2 separate regions of the Homo sapiens genome follow, and region 1 is linked to region 2. Evidence: promoter capture Hi-C in 16 types of primary human blood cells and fetal thymus (Javierre and others, 2016). All regions are on one chromosome and are shown on one strand. Each heading gives the region's core, a stretch centred on a gene start or on the middle of the fragment in contact. The rest is flanking DNA. Distances are from core to core; before and after follow the strand shown.

What was found. The method cuts DNA at HindIII sites, captures the fragments that hold promoters and counts their contacts. A CHiCAGO score of 5 or more calls a contact.
Region 1: the fragment with the promoter of IFNE here is called in contact with the fragment with the promoter of IFNA2 in region 2 in 11 of 17 cell types (total B cells, neutrophils, monocytes and 8 more); the score reaches 12.5 in total B cells.

Annotation. Positions count from the first base shown.
Region 1 is chr9:21,480,660-21,484,053 of GRCh38, reverse strand. It overlaps IFNE (interferon epsilon), which reads left to right and starts at 1,741. Exons shown (of 1, transcript NM_176891.5): 1 at 1,741-3,215. The coding sequence starts at 2,360. The coding sequence ends at 2,986. All of the region lies in intron 1 of MIR31HG (MIR31 host gene), which reads left to right. The HindIII fragment of the contact is 2,296 bases long and covers 1-1,994 here.
Region 2 is chr9:21,384,000-21,387,594 of GRCh38, reverse strand. It overlaps IFNA2 (interferon alpha 2), which reads left to right and starts at 2,197. Exons shown (of 1, transcript NM_000605.4): 1 at 2,197-3,340. The coding sequence starts at 2,266. The coding sequence ends at 2,832. The HindIII fragment of the contact is 9,842 bases long and covers 1-3,595 here.

The DNA of each region.
Region 1 (3,394 bases), core at 492-2,991, 97 kb before region 2:
AAGGATACAGAGGAACATTTTAAAATAAAGGGGTCAATTCATCAAGACGACATAATAATCCTAAATATGATGCACCTAATACTAAAGTTCTAAAATATATAAGGCAAAAACTGATAGAACTGAAATGGGAGATAGGCAAATCTAAAATTATACTAGGGATTTCAGCTCTTCTGTCTTGATAGTTGATAGAACAAATAGACCATCAGAAAGGATACAGAAAATTTCAAACACTTTCAATCAGCTTAACCTATTTGACATTTATAAAACAGTCCAACCAACAAAAGTAGAACATTATTATTTCAAGTTCACAAGGAACTGTCACCAAGATAAACCATATTCTAAGCCATAAAATAAGTCTCAATAAATTTAAACTACATTCTTTAACCACAACAGATTCAAATATGAAATCAGTAACAGAAAGGCATCTGGAAAATCCCTGATCATTTGGAAATTAAACAACATTTAGATCATTTTTGTCAATTGAATGAAAATGATGAGAAAGCCTTATAGATCAGAGCTCGTTGTTATTAGATGGAGTAACTTCTGATATTCTTAATTTATTTTTATATTGTTTTCCCGAAGCTCAGCATTAAATATTTAAAGATTTTTTGAGACTAGTCAAAATTCTACTTTCCAGATAGATTGAGCATAATGTTATGAAACAAGTGTTATTCCTTTCGTATATTATATATTATCATATGTCTTTTCTCTCTCTTTCTCTTTCTCTCTCTCTCTCTCTCTCTCTCTCTCTCTCAGATAGGGAGGGAAAAGACCCTCTGTGGAGCATGCTGACTGAGTTTATTTCAACTTATTAATACTAGACTAAGTGACCAAACATACAGCTGAGCTGGTATATAATGAGACCATACATGTTTACAGAGTGCCTGTTTTTGACATTTAGGGATTCACCCAGCTGCCTGCAGAGAAATGATTAAAGATAAGACTCAACATCTTGTATTACTTTGTGTAGAACATATTAATTTATTCCAAGTCAACACATATTTATTAAGCAACTACTATAGTTGTATAGACAGCAAAGAAATCAGTAATCAGTGTTTATTTCACACTCTGAAGAGACTTTTAATCATGTAAGTACATAGTCAAGTATAAGACAGAACAAGAAAGGTGTCTTAAATAAGGTAGGTACAAAGTGTTGTGGGGATCCAGAAGATTATGGCTCCTTGGGGGAGATCTGGGCCTTAAAGGACAAGTAGTCTTTAGTCCTTGCACAGAAAGGTTCTTGAGGTAAAGGAGGCAACAGTTGATGTTTCAGAGAAAGCATCATCAATAAACACACACACACACAAGTGCTAGCTGTATTAAGGGAATACTAAATCACTTACTTTATCTGGAGTTCAGATTCCTTCACACTATATTTAGAGCAACAGTGGGATAAGATTGGAAAGGTATATTGGGGGCTTATTCAAGAGGAACTTAGAATATGGAACTGGGTATTTGTAATTCAAAGGACATTGTTAATGTAGAGATGTTCACATTAGTTTACCAGAGCTATCACTATTCTAGGGAATATACGCTAACCAAATGCCCCCAATCTCTCTTCACATATAATTTTGTCATCTATAATGGATATATATCATTTAATTATATGGCTGTACCAACATATATGTAATCATTCACCTGTCGTTGAACCTATAGGTTGTTTCTAATATTCTGCTTTGCAATAATATTATAACACTCTTCTTTTGCTAATTTTTTTGCATTGCTTCTATAGGCTAGAATCTTAGATATTAAACTGATAGGATAAGATATAAAATAATTTAAGATTGCTGATATATGTTTTAAAATTAATTATTTGCTCAAGCATTTGTGACAATTTACAGTTCTAATTGAGGTTTTAAATTTAGTAGTTTGTAGGTATTTTAAGTTTTGCCCCTGAATTCTTTATAGGTGCTGATAAGCCTTTGGTAAGTTTTACTCCATGAAAGACTATTACTGAAAAAAACGTAATCTCAATAAAAGAACTTTAATAAGCTTGACTAAATATTTAGAAAGCACATTGTGTTCAGTGAAACTTTGTATATAATGAATAGAATAATAAAAGATTATGTTGGATGACTAGTCTGTAATTGCCTCAAGGAAAGCATACAATGAATAAGTTATTTTGGTACTTCCTCAAAATAGCCAACACAATAGGGAAATGGAGAAAATGTACTCTGAACACCATGAAAAGGGAACCTGAAAATCTAATGTGTAAACTTGGAGAAATGACATTAGAAAACGAAAGCAACAAAAGAGAACACTCTCCAAAATAATCTGAGATGCATGAAAGGCAAACATTCACTAGAGCTGGAATTTCCCTAAGTCTATGCAGGGATAAGTAGCATATTTGACCTTCACCATGATTATCAAGCACTTCTTTGGAACTGTGTTGGTGCTGCTGGCCTCTACCACTATCTTCTCTCTAGATTTGAAACTGATTATCTTCCAGCAAAGACAAGTGAATCAAGAAAGTTTAAAACTCTTGAATAAGTTGCAAACCTTGTCAATTCAGCAGTGTCTACCACACAGGAAAAACTTTCTGCTTCCTCAGAAGTCTTTGAGTCCTCAGCAGTACCAAAAAGGACACACTCTGGCCATTCTCCATGAGATGCTTCAGCAGATCTTCAGCCTCTTCAGGGCAAATATTTCTCTGGATGGTTGGGAGGAAAACCACACGGAGAAATTCCTCATTCAACTTCATCAACAGCTAGAATACCTAGAAGCACTCATGGGACTGGAAGCAGAGAAGCTAAGTGGTACTTTGGGTAGTGATAACCTTAGATTACAAGTTAAAATGTACTTCCGAAGGATCCATGATTACCTGGAAAACCAGGACTACAGCACCTGTGCCTGGGCCATTGTCCAAGTAGAAATCAGCCGATGTCTGTTCTTTGTGTTCAGTCTCACAGAAAAACTGAGCAAACAAGGAAGACCCTTGAACGACATGAAGCAAGAGCTTACTACAGAGTTTAGAAGCCCGAGGTAGGTGGAGGGACTAGAGGACTTCTCCAGACATGATTCTTCATAGAGTGGTAATACAATTTATAGTACAATCACATTGCTTTGATTTTGTGTATATATATATTTATCTGTGTTTTAAGATTGTGCATATTGACCACAATTGTTTTTATTTTGTAATGTGGCTTTATATATTCTATCCATTTTAAATTGTTTGTATGTCAAAATAAATTCATTAATATGGTTGATTCTTCAAATGGGTGTATTTTCATACAGGCTGGCTGGGTAGATACAATAAAATATGCCACTAATGTAAAAATACTTTCCTTAACATAGAACTCCATTGCAATGATTTGCTTATTTGCCAGAAATTGCTAGAGACAATGAGAAATATTGGGAATAATTTGCATTTTAAGATTTGAAAATATTATTACAC
Region 2 (3,595 bases), core at 948-3,447:
TTCTATGCCTATGGAAACAAACAAAAAGAAGCAGAAGCTACATTTATATCAGACAAAATAGACTGCAAGACAAAAACTATGAAAAGAGAGAAAGAAGGTCATTATATAGTGATAAAGGGGTCCATTTAGCAAGAGCATTTAACAATTCTAAATATATATTCACCCAATACTGGAGTACTCAGGTATATAAAGCAAATATTATTAGAGCCAAAGAGAGAGATAGACAGACCCCCATACAATAATAACTGGAGACTTCAACACCCCACTTTCAGCATTGGACAGATCATCCAGACAGAAAATTAACAAACATCAAATTTCATCTGCACCATAGGCCAAATGGACCTAGTAGATATTTACAGAACATTTGATCCAACAGCTGTAGAATACACATTCTTCTCCTCAGCACATGGATAATTCTCAAGGATATACCAAATGCTAGGTCACAAAACAAATCTTAAAATTTAGAAAAAAAGTGAAATAATATCAAACGTTTTCTCTCACCACAGACTAAGAAAAAAAGAAGTCCCAAATAAATACAATCTGAGATAAAAAAGGAGACATGACAACCAATACCACAAAAAATTAAAGGATCATTAGAAGATACTATGAAACTATATGCTAATAAATTGGAAAACCTGAACAAAATAGATAATTCCTAGAAACATACAACATACTGGTCTGTTCAGGTTTTGTATTTTTTCATAGTACCATGAAGAAATACAAGAATTGTTTCTAGAACCATTCTTGTATTTCTTCATGGTTTTTGTATTTCTTCATGGAACCATGAAGAAATACAAAATGTGAACAGGCCAATAACAAGTAATGAGACAGAAGCCATACTAAAAAGTATCCCAGAAAAGAACTCAGGATCTGATGGCTTCACTGATGAATTTTGCCAAATATTTAAAAAACTAATACCAATCCAACTCAAATTATTAAAAAAATAGAGGTGGACAGAATCTTTCCAAATGTATTCTATGAGGCCAGTGTTTTTTCTGATTGAATCTCCCATTATATTTTAATCACATATAAAACCAGAGAAAGACACATTAAAAAGAAAGAAAACTGTAGGCCAATATCTCTGATGAACATTGATGCAGAAATCCTCAACAACAAATTAGCAAACTGAATTCAAGAACACATTAAAACAATCATTCATCATGACCAAGTGGAATTTGTCCTAGAGATTCAAGTGTGGTTAGGTATGTGCAGATCAATGGGTTTAATGTTGTCCAATGAACATAATGTCCTCCAGCTCCATCCATGTTCTTGCAAATGACAGGATCTCATTCTTTTTTATGGCTAAGTAGTACTCCATTGTGTATAAGTGCCATATTTTCTTTATCCATTCATCTGTTAGACACCTAAGTTGCTTCCAAATCTTAGCTATTGTGAATAGTGCTGCAATAAACATGGGAGTGTAAATATTTTGTTGACATACTGATTTCATTTCCTTTGGATAAATACCCAGTAGTGGGATTGCTGGATCATATGGGGGAAAATGGAGATGGCTAACGGGCACAAAAATATAGTTAGAAAAAATGAATATGATTTAGTATTCGATAGCACAATAGGATGACTACTGTTAATGATAATTTATTATATATTATAAAATAACTAAAATAGTATAAATGGGATGTATGTAGCAGAGAGAAATGATAAATGTTTGAAGCATTGGATACTCCATTCACCCTGCTGTGATTATTATGAATTGTCTGCCTATATAAAAATATTTCACTTATTCCATAAACACAGACGCCTCTTATGTACCCACAAAAATCTATTTTCAAAAAAGTTGCTCTAAGAATATAGTTATCAAGTTAAGTAAAATGTCAATAGCCTTTTAATTTAATTTTTAATTGTTTTATCATTCTTTGCAATAATAAAACATTAACTTTATACTTTTTAATTTAATGTATAGAATAGAGATATACATAGGATATGTAAATAGATACACAGTGTATATGTGATTAAAATATAATGGGAGATTCAATCAGAAAAAAGTTTCTAAAAAGGCTCTGGGGTAAAAGAGGAAGGAAACAATAATGAAAAAAATGTGGTGAGAAAAACAGCTGAAAACCCATGTAAAGAGTGCATAAAGAAAGCAAAAAGAGAAGTAGAAAGTAACACAGGGGCATTTGGAAAATGTAAACGAGTATGTTCCCTATTTAAGGCTAGGCACAAAGCAAGGTCTTCAGAGAACCTGGAGCCTAAGGTTTAGGCTCACCCATTTCAACCAGTCTAGCAGCATCTGCAACATCTACAATGGCCTTGACCTTTGCTTTACTGGTGGCCCTCCTGGTGCTCAGCTGCAAGTCAAGCTGCTCTGTGGGCTGTGATCTGCCTCAAACCCACAGCCTGGGTAGCAGGAGGACCTTGATGCTCCTGGCACAGATGAGGAGAATCTCTCTTTTCTCCTGCTTGAAGGACAGACATGACTTTGGATTTCCCCAGGAGGAGTTTGGCAACCAGTTCCAAAAGGCTGAAACCATCCCTGTCCTCCATGAGATGATCCAGCAGATCTTCAATCTCTTCAGCACAAAGGACTCATCTGCTGCTTGGGATGAGACCCTCCTAGACAAATTCTACACTGAACTCTACCAGCAGCTGAATGACCTGGAAGCCTGTGTGATACAGGGGGTGGGGGTGACAGAGACTCCCCTGATGAAGGAGGACTCCATTCTGGCTGTGAGGAAATACTTCCAAAGAATCACTCTCTATCTGAAAGAGAAGAAATACAGCCCTTGTGCCTGGGAGGTTGTCAGAGCAGAAATCATGAGATCTTTTTCTTTGTCAACAAACTTGCAAGAAAGTTTAAGAAGTAAGGAATGAAAACTGGTTCAACATGGAAATGATTTTCATTGATTCGTATGCCAGCTCACCTTTTTATGATCTGCCATTTCAAAGACTCATGTTTCTGCTATGACCATGACACGATTTAAATCTTTTCAAATGTTTTTAGGAGTATTAATCAACATTGTATTCAGCTCTTAAGGCACTAGTCCCTTACAGAGGACCATGCTGACTGATCCATTATCTATTTAAATATTTTTAAAATATTATTTATTTAACTATTTATAAAACAACTTATTTTTGTTCATATTATGTCATGTGCACCTTTGCACAGTGGTTAATGTAATAAAATATGTTCTTTGTATTTGGTAAATTTATTTTGTGTTGTTCATTGAACTTTTGCTATGGAAACTTTTGTACTTGTTTATTCTTTAAAATGAAATTCCAAGCCTAATTGTGCAACCTGATTACAGAATAACTGGTACACTTCATTTATCCATCAATATTATATTCAAGATATAAGTAAAAATAAACTTTCTGTAAACCAGGTTGTATGTTGTACTCAAGATAACAAGGTGAACCTAACAAATACAATTCTGCTCTCTTGTGTATTTGATTTTTGTATGAAAAAAACTAAAAATGGTAATCATACTTAATTATCAGTTATGGTAAATGGTATGAAGAGAAGAAGGAACAACCGATGATTTCTCTCTGCAGAAGGTAGATTGAGGCATGTGAGGAAATAAAAATAAGACAGAGACATTCTCTTTAAATTGACTAGTATACATCTATTAGAAAATGT